3 separate regions of the Homo sapiens genome follow, and all the other regions are linked to region 1. Evidence: promoter capture Hi-C in 16 types of primary human blood cells and fetal thymus (Javierre and others, 2016). All regions are on one chromosome and are shown on one strand. The core of a region is centred on a gene start or on the middle of the fragment in contact, and the rest is flanking DNA. Distances in the headings are between cores, read along the strand shown.

Evidence for each region. Contacts are between HindIII fragments. The CHiCAGO score rates a contact against its expected background, and 5 or more counts as called.
Region 2: a contact is called between the fragment with the promoter of ACACB here and the fragment with the promoter of SSH1 in region 1, in 4 of 17 cell types (activated CD4 T cells, non-activated CD4 T cells, naive CD8 T cells and 1 more). The highest score is 7.3, in activated CD4 T cells.
Region 3: a contact is called between a fragment that was not itself captured here and the fragment with the promoter of SSH1 in region 1, in 4 of 17 cell types (neutrophils, non-activated CD4 T cells, total CD8 T cells and 1 more). The highest score is 8.5, in neutrophils.

What each region holds. Positions count from the first base shown.
Region 1 is chr12:108,855,411-108,859,148 of GRCh38, forward strand. It overlaps SSH1 (slingshot protein phosphatase 1), which reads right to left and starts at 2,173. Exons shown (of 15, transcript NM_018984.4): 1 at 2,018-2,173. The coding sequence starts at 2,086. RefSeq lists enhancers at 869-1,370, 1,423-1,472 and a silencer at 1,903-2,642. The HindIII fragment of the contact is 10,101 bases long and covers 1-3,738 here.
Region 2 is chr12:109,114,134-109,118,038 of GRCh38, forward strand. ACACB (acetyl-CoA carboxylase beta) reads left to right here and starts at 2,454. Exons shown (of 53, transcript NM_001093.4): 1 at 2,454-2,571. The HindIII fragment of the contact is 11,769 bases long and covers 1-3,905 here.
Region 3 is chr12:108,548,876-108,553,013 of GRCh38, forward strand. SART3 (spliceosome associated factor 3, U4/U6 recycling protein) reads right to left here. Exons shown (of 19, transcript NM_014706.4): 2 at 213-339. Among named protein-coding and RNA genes, the nearest start is that of SART3, 10 kb to the right of the region's middle. RefSeq lists a silencer at 401-470. The HindIII fragment of the contact is 3,753 bases long and covers 206-3,958 here.

The DNA.
Region 1 (3,738 bases), core at 923-3,422:
GGAATTAGATGGTGGTGGTTGCACAATCTCATGTATATACTAAAAACCACTGAATTGTACACTTTAAAATGGCAAATTTATGGTATGTAACTAAAAAATAATAAGACCTTAAAATGCGTAAGACAAGAACAGATTAGGTTGCAAGTAACTCTAGGAACATGGGGTTTTGAATCAGAAATCTGGGCTGACAGGTTCAGCCTGAAGCCAACCTCTCCCCTTACCTCACATAAACTTTTGTGATGAGAACCTGAGATTAAGTGCATAAATTGCCAGACAGCAGTGACCGGAACAGAAAACAGCCCCTCCTCGCTGTGGGAAGGAAAGGCGCTCCTGCAACCTAACTTCTCAGTAGCAGGCTATTGATCGCCAGTGTTCTTTTGCCTCTAATCAGCGTGTAGAGGGGGATTACTAGAACCTTCTGTGTATAGATAACTCATGAATGGCCTCTCCTCTCCAAGGAGGGGGCTGTGAAGGTTCAACTTCCCAGCCACTCTGAAAATGTCCCTGCCAATCCCAGCAAAACAAGGCTGAAGAACTACCCTACCAGGAGACAGGGCTGTCAAGCCAAATGCAAACATTATTCTCTTGTCTCTCTCAGACACACAAACCTCCCCCGTGTTATCAGTCAACTTCCCCCACTCCCTCCCACAAAGAAAGGGGCTGAAGAGCCCAGATGCTGGCTGCGGAACTTCCTGGGCCTGGGACCGCAGGGCCGCTCCTCCAGTCTTCTCTAAACACAGCTAAGGGTCTGCAGGCGGACACTCAGCCTTGTTATAGGTAAGAGTTTAGACCAGAGGCCTTGACGGGTTCTTCAAGAGATGGTGGGCAAGATTGCGCGACCAGAGGGTCATCCCTGCAGCTACAGAGGGCTGACCTGCTCAGAGGCCCAAGGCCCCAGCCTAGGACAAGCCAGGCCAACCCTGCAGGCTAAGAGGGCAACAGTGCCCTCAATCAACCCCAGAGGAAAAAGTGGCCAGGCAAACGGACCTGGGCCACACACAGACCCACAAAAACGCGCACAGTGCCAGGACACGCAACCCAGGAATGCACCTATGCAATCACCCAGAATGGGTCACAGCCACACAGAAAGATAGATGCACATAAACACACAGGCCTGAGTGATGTTACAGAAAGGAAAAGCCAGACTAAGGCTGCACGCACAGACGTGAAACACAGCCACACAGAGCCCACAGCACGCTCGGTCACCGTCACACAGTGACACGGGCACGCCTACAGACAGAACTCCAGAGGCGGCAGGCGGGGAAACAATCTCACACGTTTGTAGGGGCACTCCCAGATGCCTGTCTCACGCTGGCACAGTCCCCGGACGGCAGGTCAGCAACAGTCACATCTCACATCGCACAGCCAGGCATACAGGCAAAGGGCCTAGAACTACCCCGGCCACAGGTCTCAGAACCAGCGGCTCACGCAGTCACCCAATCAAGGGTCCCAGTTGCACATCCAGTCACCCCTGGACCCTGGTCACACTGCAGAGTCACTCACAAATGGGAGTCCCGACAGACGCACAGTCCTCCCCAGACAGAGGTCAACCCAAGATGGGGGTCACACCTGAAATCACAGTCCCCACACAATCACGAGGTCACATCTGCACACACAGTCTCTGCACAGTCACCCTTAGGGGTCACAACGCACACAGTCTCCGCCTAACAGGGGTCACCCCAAGATGGGGGTAACCCCCTGATGTGGGTCACAGCGCACACACAGTATCCTGCAGACACTCCCAGAGGGGTCGCACTGCATACACAGTCCCTGCAAAGTCGCCCCCCGATAGGGGTCACACCGCACACAAAGTCCCCGCACAGCTCCCCAAGACAGGGTCACATCGCACACAGTCCTCGCACGGTCACCCCGGTCCGGCTGCCCGGCTCTGTTCCTACGGCGGGGCCCCGAGGAGCCCGCGCAGCCGCCCCCCTGCCCCGCACGCGCGGCCCCAGCTCCGGCGGCCTCGGCGCGGCGTCCGGCGGCCCAGGCCGGGCGCGGCGAGCCCGGGGCTCACCTCGCTGTTGCTGGCCGAGGAGGAGGCGGCGCTGGGCGTGGGCGAGCGCTGCAGGGTCACCAGGGCCATGGCTGCGGCGCGGTGCGAGGGCGCCACAGACGTCTCGAGCTAGAGCCGCCACCGCCACCGCCGCCCGGGCCGGGCCCGGGGCCTCCTGGAGCCGCGCGCGGGCGGCCGGGCCGAGCCGGGCCGGGCCCGCCCCTCCCCCTCGGCGTCGCCACCGCCCCCGCCCCCAGCTCCCGCCTCCCGCGCCGGCGCGCGCAGGCCTCAGTGCGCGGAGTGGGCGGGGAAGCGGGCAGGGCGGGACGAGGAGGCGCGCGTGCGCGGGGGCCCTGAGGGCTGCCCGAGGCCTCGGCTGGTCGATCACGTCCCTCGCGCGCCCGACACACGCGCCCCCGCCCGCGCGCCCCGCTATCAGGCCTGGGACTCGGGGGCGCGCGCGCCGCCCGGAGCCCGTACGCCCCAGGGGCCCTGCCCGCTGCTCTGCCTGGGGAAACTGAGGCCCGGCGACCGTGCAGACAGGACTGTACAGCGACCAGGAAATAAAAGACGTCCTGGGGCCGGGCGCGGTGGCTCACGCCTGTAATCCCAGCACTTTGGGAGGCTGAGGCGGGCGGATTACGAGGTCAAGAGATCGAGACCATCCTGGCCAACATGGTGAAACCCCGTCTCTACTAAAAAGACAAAAATTAGCTGGGCGCAGTGGTGCGCGCCTGTAGTCCCAGCTACTCGGGAGGCTGAGGCAAGAGAATCGCTTGAATCTGGGAGGCGGAGGTTGCAATGAGCTGAGATCGCGCCACTGCACTCCAGCCTGGGCGACAGAGCGAGACTCGGTCTCAAAAAAACAAAAAACAAAAAACAAAAACAGTAAGCAAAATAGATTCGCCTGATTTTGCAGAGGTTAATCAAGTTATTAGGCACGTTTTTAAAAAAGTATTTTGCTAATCTTTTTCAATGAATTCTTTCTGGGTGTTCTGAAACCCAGCCAACTCCTTGGAGGTCAGGGAAGGCTTCCCAGAAGAGCTTTATTCTGAGGCTTGGGCTTGAGCATAAGCAGGATTAACAGGTGAAAGAACAGAGAGACAGCTCTCCAAGCAGGGGGGATCAGCGTGCCCTGAAGCAGGAAGAAGTTTGTCAACCGGAGGCCAGCACTCAGGGAAGGGAAGAGGGGAGGAATGGCTGGAGTCTCCATCCTCTCTGGAAAGATCGCTCCGGCTGCTGCGTGGATGAGGGACCACGGGGCAGAGGGCTGAGGGAGACCAGGGAGGAGGCTGCTGCTGTTGTCCCGGGGAGAGGTGACCAGTTATGGGGATGGAGAGGGGAACATGGAATAAGATACCAAGAAGGCAATTCTGGCTTGACTTAGTAGTAGGAAACTTTTCTTTTAGCCAAAATCTCATCTCCCGGCTCCCACCCCCAACCTCTGCATGTTGCACAAGCACTCGCAAACGCAGTGGTCCCAGCCTGCCCCGCAGCTTAGCAAATTTGTCTTACTGCCCAACAGGAAACCCACGCAGCCTCCTGGATTCTTCCCCGTCCCTCCCTCTGTCCTGGGGCTGTGACCTCCTCCATGTTATTCACAGGGTCTCAGCACGATTCATCTCAAAGGTGATTCTAGTGGGGGGCACTGTAGCTTCTACGGAGCGTTTCTAAGAGGGGATTTGTGGGAATGTTTGTGGTTGTCTTGCTGATGGAGGGGGAGAGCTCCTGGCATTTAGAGT
Region 2 (3,905 bases), core at 1,204-3,703, 260 kb after region 1:
CATACCTGGCTAAGTTTTTAATAGAAATGGGGTCTTGCTAAGTTGCCCAGGCTAGGGAACCAGTTTTTAAGTTTTTGAAATATGCTTGGAAATATAAATATTGGTGAGCGGAGCAGACCAGGAGATCAATAATTTATGTTCTCTGCTTGTTAGTTGTGTATATAGCATGTTCTTTTGTCTCTCTTAATGATGTTTGGGGTGAGGGTGTGGGAGAGGAAGGTAGGGAGCCTTCCAACAAGAAGCTAGTGCTCCTCCAGCCTAGAGAAGCTAAAACATGCAAAGCCAGACCCCATCCCTGGAAATTCTGATTTAATTGGTGGGGGAAGGCATGTGAATTCTCACAGAGGGTCCGGTTTGCAGCAGGACTGGTGATTTCTTTCCAGGTGCCTTGTTTTGTTAGACCATGTGGTCACTTAATAATTTTTTTTGGGCCAGGTACAGTGGCTCATACCTGTAATCCCAGTGCTTTAGGAGGCAAGGCAAGAAGATCGCTTTAGGCCAGGAGTTCAAGACCAACTTGGGCAACATAATGAGACCTTGTCTTTAAAAAAAAAAAATTTTTTTTTTTTTAATTAGCCAGGGGTGGTGTGTGCCTGTAGTTCTAGCTACTTGGGAAGCTGAGGCAGGAGGATCATTTGAGCCCAGGAGTTCGAGGCTGCAGTGAGCTATGATCATGCCACTGCACTCCATCCAGCCTGGGCAACAGAGCAAGATCCTATTTCTAAAACAAAACAAAACAAAACAAAAAATGTAACTTGATACCTGTGACTTTCTGAAACTAACAGCTGTTTGAAGAAATATATTTCTATTACCGTTCTTGTGTTTGATGGAAAGAGTTTATGAATAACTTTGGTTTCAAGCCTTCCAATTATATTCTGGAAAATACCTGTGTCTTAAAGAGATAGTGTCTAGGGAGAACTGAATCACTGCAGAGTTCTTCACCTGTATGTGTGGGTATGTCTAGTCTTTTTGCAAGTAATGAATTTCATTAGAAAGATATTAAGTGCTTGTCATGAGCAAGCCCCTGTGCCAGAAACTCAATATAAATCATTTCATTTTCTCACCCATATGGTGAAGTAGTTGATGAGGACACTGAAGCTCAGCCATTTGCTCAAAGTCATGGCTAATGGAGGGAGGATTCAAACCCACATCAGCTTGATTTCAAAGCCTAATAGTCCTGCCACTGTCAACACCCTGCCTAGATCATGATTATTTGGAATCACTGGGAAAGAATTTTTTTTTCATGAAGTTAGAAGCCTAAGAATTTTTTTCAATGGAATTTTATAAAAATGTCCTTGAATCACAGATGGCTCTCCCTGGAAACATAGGTTTGTTTGAGAGTCACCTCTTTTATTGTCTTAATAAATAGACTAAGAGCCATCACAAGGGCTACTGTGGCTAGAGAACATATGACTCGGGCCGGGCATTGTGCAGGCATTTGACCTGCATTCCTTCACCCCGGTTCCTGTAACATGTACCTGGTGCTGTGGGGTTACAGCTGATAATGCTGAGGTTTCCAGAGCACATGCTTCCAAGTCCAGTGGAGAAAATCCCAAGAAGTCCAATATTCAATGACTGTTCCTTATTGCAAAATAAGCCCAGAAACAAAGTAGCTGTGAACAGGCTGCACCAGCCCCAGCAGCAATTTCCATTTAAACCATTTTGCACAGATCCCGTGCTCAGCGCTCTCGCCAGTTTCTCCACTTGCTGTTTAGTAAGGCCATCATTGTTGGCAGGAAGTGGGTTCCACCTTCCCTGTTGCCTGAGCACAATGTGCTCCTATGTGGTCTCCACTTTCCTGCTGCCTAGTTGGCTGGGCTTCTCCAGCTGGGCCTTGGAGGCGACCTTTGTCCCACATGCCAGCCCTCCCCACGTTGCAGAACACTATGTAACTGCAGCGTGTGCTGAATTTCCTCTTCTGTGCTCAACCCTAGCAAGAGCCAGTCAACCCTGAATGAGAATGTGGCAATGGAGCTGTTTTTTTCTTTTATCCCCAAGTCACAAGAAATTGGAAACATTCCATTAAGTGGCGTGATTTGAGAGGGTTTCGCCAAATCTTTTCAGGGGAGAGAAGCCAGGTGACCTGATAGCGATCACCTTCCCATTCACGGTTTTCAATGGGGGCTTGTTTCTCAAATGACCAACACCTGTAGGCAGTTAATTTTCAGCATGTCACAGGAGGGCCCAGATGACTTTCTGCCTACTGCTTACGACAACATGGACTTTAGATGCCTCATGGCTTCAACAGCTAAGAATTATGAAATAAAGCGAGTTATGGGATTAAAAGGCAGATAGCAGAACTCTCCCAGGAGTAGCCAGGGCTGCACAAGTGGTTTGACGTGGGATCTTTCTCATCTTTGCCCCGGGTTGTTGCTGCTTTGAAGGTTAAGTGCTCCAGGGATATTTTTAAACAGCAGGGGCTGATTAATCTAAAAGTGACATTTGCAGTCCCCAGAGTAAGCAGCTAGCAGGCTTAGATTCAGGCCCTCAGCAAACAAGGAACCTGGAAAATGTAACCCTGAATGCACGGTGGGGAGGACATGGCAAGAGAAAAGCGGCAGGAATAAAGTGGTAAGTCAGCTCGCCCCTCCCCGGGGTCCGGACCATTCTGCCAACGTCCAGGTAAATTCGAACCCAATGTATAGTGAGAGCAGACCCTGTCTGAAGGCATGCACTTGGGGTCCCCGGGGAAAAACGACTCCCGTCATGTTTGAAGGAAGCTAATCAGAAGAGCTCGAAATGTAACGCAGATGAAAGAGAAGGGCCTTTCTTTGCTTCTATAAATGGTGGTGTGGATCCCTGGACATGCTCCCATATAAGTTCCACAACGTTTTATAAACAATTCTGTTTTTTGCCTCCAAAGCTACTGTCTTAAGGAATAGTATTCTGTTTCTGTTTCCTCAAATGGTTGTTCTTTTTTTTTTTTTTTTTTTTTTTAAAGCAGACTAAGGCTGGGCACGGTGGCTCATGCCACCCAGCACCTTGGGAGGCAGAGGCAGGTGGATCACTTGAGGTCAGGAGTTCGAGACCAGCCTGGCCAACATGGCGAAACCCCATCTGTACTAAACACATAAAAATTAGCCAGATGTGGTGATGGGCACCTGTAATCCCAGCTACTTGGGAGGCTGAGGCAGGAGAATCGCTTGAACCCAGGAGGTGGGGGTTGCAGTGAGCTAAAATTGCGCCACTGCATTCCAGCCTGACTGACAGAGCAAGACTCTGTCTCAAAAAAAAAAAAAAAGAAAAGAAAAAGAAAAAAAGGAGACTAAGAGTAAAGCGTTTGTAGTGGTCCTATATCCTATATTTCTAGGAAGACATGACTTTCTTTCAATGTTGAAAAAATGCATTCCAAAATAATATGCAAGTTAAAAAGTCACTCAGCACCGTGCAAAAGTCTCCTTGCTGTTATTCCTGTCTAACCCTCCTCCTCCAGGTAGCCACTGTGCACATTTTGGTATAAACCCCCCAGACCTTTTATTCTGTACACTCACACTGTACACAACTCTCTCCCTCATGTCTATTGTGATTACTTTTATTTTTTAATATCAATGGGCATCCATATAGGTTGGGTGACCAACCATCCCACTTTGCCCAGGACCGGGGAATTCCCGGGACATGGGACTTGCAATTTAAAAACTGAAAGGTGAAGATATTATTATTATCATTATTATTTGAGATGGAGTGCTCACTGCAAGCTCCGCCTCCTGGGTTCACGCCATTCTCCTGCCTCAGCCTCCCAAGTAGCTGGGACTACAGGCACCCACTACCACGCCCGGCTAATTTTTTTTGTATTTTTAGTAGAGACAGGGTTTCACTGTGTTAGCCAGGATGGTCTCGATCTCCTGACCTCAAGTGATCCGCCCGCCTCGGCCTCCCAGAGTGCTGGGATTACAGGCATGAGCCAC
Region 3 (4,138 bases), core at 832-3,331, 310 kb before region 1:
AATCAGAATTCAAAATCCGTGTTATATGATCATAACTACATTTTGCAAAAAACTACAATAAACTAAAAATAGCTAACTCTGATGCGTTTTCTTCTTTCCACTACACTGAACGTTCCAGGTTTTCTACAAGGAGCATGTCCCACTTTCAACATTGTAAAAAATGTGCAAGCCTTGTTTCTGTTTCTAAAAGCAGCCTGACTGCTGAAGCTTACCTTCAGTCAAGGGAAAGATTTCACTCATCTTCTGGCGGGCCATCCTCACCTTGGTAAGCTCCCCTTCCAGCCTGAGCAGTCTGATCAAGTCCACATGGCAGTTGTAGTCATAGACGTTGATAGACAACTAACAGGAAAAGAAACAAGTTGAAATTTAAAACACCGTCATCAAGTAACTTAGCTTTTGTCACTACTGGTAACTACACATATACCTGCCACAAACAAAATAAACGTGCTATCTGAGAAAACCACTGAAACAGCAACCCAGCACGTACCCACAGGTAGAAGACAAAACAATAAAAGAGGCTTTTGTAACAAACATAAAGCTCCCTCAAATCTGTTACAGTTCCTGTTAGAAGACATTTGGGTTCTCTTGGAAATAAAGGAGGCATTCTAATGAAACAAATAAAAAGTATGTGACCTTAGGTAAGTTATTTACTTTCCTAAGCTCTATTTCCTCATCTATAAAATGAGGACACTACTAGTTTCTAGCTCATACCAGGTCTTCCAAGGATTTAAAAAATTTCTACTGTTACACTGGTCTTTAAGAAAAACTAAAAAATAAAAAGGTAATTTCATAACGTCCTTTAGCACATGTGAGGTACACTGTAAGACCTCTTTTATTTTACTAAATAAAAAAGATGGAAGCCAGTTGTGGTGGCTCACATCTGTGATCCCAGCACTTTGGGAGGCCGAGGCAGGTGGATTGCTTGAGCTCAGGAGTTCGAGACCAGCCTCAGCAACACAGTCAAACCCTATCTCTACCAAAAATACAAAAAATTAGCCAGACATGGTGGCATGCACCTGTGGTCCCAGCTACTTGGGAGGCTGAAGTGGATCACCTGAGCCTGGGAGACAGAGGTTGCAGCGAGCCGAGACCACACCACTGCACTCTAGGCCTGGGTGACAGAGCAAGACCCAATCTCAAAAAAAAAAAAAAAAAAAAAAAGATAGAAATCCCTATTAGAGAAACAAGAGTGGCAGCAGGTTGGTATCTGTTGATGCTGAGTGACAGGTACATAAAGTTTTATTTGTACATTTGAAACTTTTCAAACTAAAATTATTTTAAGTTACCATATATCTGAGACAAAGAAAAATGAAAAAAATGTCACTAGCAGACCTACCCTTGAAGAATAGCTAAAGGAAGTTCTTCGAACAGAAAAGTTAGAAGAAGGAATCCTAAAGCATCAAAAAGGAAGAAAGAACAGGAAGAGCAGAAATACGGGAACTACGACAGATTATCCTCCTCTCCTCATGAGCTTTCTAAATCATATGTAATGGAACAAACATTGTAAGAACTTCTGATACCCAACACAGTATTATTTAAAAGTGGGGATGGAAAGAGAACTGAAATGGAAGATTCCCTCACTTCATTCAAGTGGTAAAACACGGATACCATGTAAGTCAACTCCGTATATTTTAATACCCAAAGCAACCACTGAGAAAACTATTCAAAGCAATTACACTAAAAATCACCTTAAATAAATCAAGATGGCTGGGCATGGTGGCTCACACCTGTAATCCCAGCACTTTGGGAGGCCAAAGCGGGCAGATCATGAGGTCAGGAGTTCAAGACCAGCCTGGCCAACATGGTGAAACCCTGTCTCTACCAAAAAATACAAAAAATTAGCTGGGTGTGGTGGCACATGCCTGTAGTCCAGCTACTCAGGAGGCTGAGACAGGAGAATTGCTTGAACCCGGGAGGCGGAGGTTGCAGTGAGCAGAGATCCAGCCTGGGTGACAAAACAAGGCTCCATCTCAAAAAAATAAATAAATAAATCAAGATGAAAATCTAAAAAATATTCAAATAATCCACAGAAAGGCAAGAAAGGAGAAACAGAAGAATGAGAAACAGAAAATAAACAGAAAATAGTAAAACGGCAGGCTTTGGTCTGAATAAACCAACAATTGCCTTAAATGCGAATGGTGCATATATGCTAATTAAAAGGTAGATAATGGTAGAGTGGATAAAAACACAACCCAACTATATGGTGAGTACAAGAAATTCATTTCAAATTCAAAGACACAGGTAAACTGGTTGAAAGGAAAAGGAGAGAAAAAGATAACATGCAAGCATTAATTAAAAAGTTGAAGCGGACATATTAATATCACATAACGTACACTTCAGAGCAAAGAAAATTACTAGAGATAAAAAGGATTATATAATGACACATAATAATAAATAGATCAATCTACCAGGAAGACATAACAATCCTAAATGTGTAGGAACCAAAGAGCGCTTGAAAATTCATGAAGCAAAAACTATTACAGAGCTCAAAGAGACACAGCAGCAATTACATTTGGCAACTTCAACATCTCCCTTTTCAGCAACTGATAAAACTACTAGACACTTGAATATGTTGAACCTGGTCAAAAAGAAGATGAATAAAAGAAAAAGAAAATTAGACAAAAGCAAATTAAAAAATTTTTAAGTTTTTAAAAAGAAAGGAAATTGTTTAATTTTTTTTTAAACTAGGCAGAACAGGGTTATAGAAGAACTCAATAACGCCGTCAACGAACATGACCTAATTTATATAGAGAACAGCCCACCCAACAATACAGAATATGTATTTTTCTCAAGTACTTACGGAACATTCACTGAAGCCATATCCTTGGCCATAAAACAAACCTCAACAATTTAAGAGAAATGAAAACCATGCAGAGTATGTTTTGTGACCACAATGGAATCAAATTAGAAACCACTAACAGTAAGAAAATCTCTGAACACGTGAAAATTAAGTAATACACTTCTAAATAATCTGCAGGTCAAAGAGGAAGTCTCCAAGAAAATTTACAAATTAAAAAAAGTGAATGAAAATGAAATTGCAACAAATCAAAATAAGTAGGATGCTACTAAAACAGTACGGAGGAAAATTTAAAGAACTAAATTCAGTGTATAAGAAGAATTATACACCATGACCAAGTGGTATTTATTCCAGGTTTGCAAGGCTAATTCAACATTTAAAAATCAATTACTGTAATCCAGTGTATCAAAAGGCTAAAGAAAACTCATGGTATCAATAGATGCAGAAAATGCATGTGACAAAATCCAACAACGATTCATGGTTAAAACACTCAGCATGTTAGGAATAGAGGGAAACAACCTCAACCTGATAAAGAGCATCTATAAAAAATCTATCCCATAAGTTGGGATATAGGGTTACCTTAACATCATTCCTAATGGTAAAAGATTGAACACTTTCCTCCTAAAATCAAGAACAAGGCAAGGATGTCTGCTCTCACCACTCTTTTCCAACAAAGTCCTATAAGTTCTAGCCTGTTCAATAAGACAAGGAAAAGAAATAAAAGCTATACAGCTCGGAAAAATAAAACTGTCCTGATTTGTAGATGATATGGCTAAGTAGACAATCTTAAGGAACCAATTAAAAAAAAAAAAAACTCCAAAAATAGTGAACTGAGCAAGGTCACAGAATATAAGATAAACATACAAAAACAAAAAAAAAAACAAAAGAACATGTGGAAACCAAATTTAAAGACATAGCACCATTTACAATCACTCCAAAAAACCTAAATAATTAGGTGTATATTTAAAAAGTTTACAAAATCTGTATGCTGAAAATTACAAAATGCTGAGGAAAGAAATCAAAGACCTAAAAAAAGAGACACTTCATGTTCATGGATTGAAAAACTCAACATAGTCAAGAAGTAAATTCTCCCTAAACTGACTTACAGGCTTACTGAAACTCCAATTAAAATCCCAACAAGGTTTTTTGTAGACCTAGACAAGCTTATTCTAAAATGTATATGGGATGGCAGAGGCCCTAGAATAGCTAAAAATGATCTTGAAAAAGAATAAAGTGGGAGTAATCACTCTACCTGATTGATACTAAAACCTACAATACAGCTACAATCATCAAGGCAGTGTGAGAATGGCAGAAAGATACATAGATGAAGAGAATAGAACC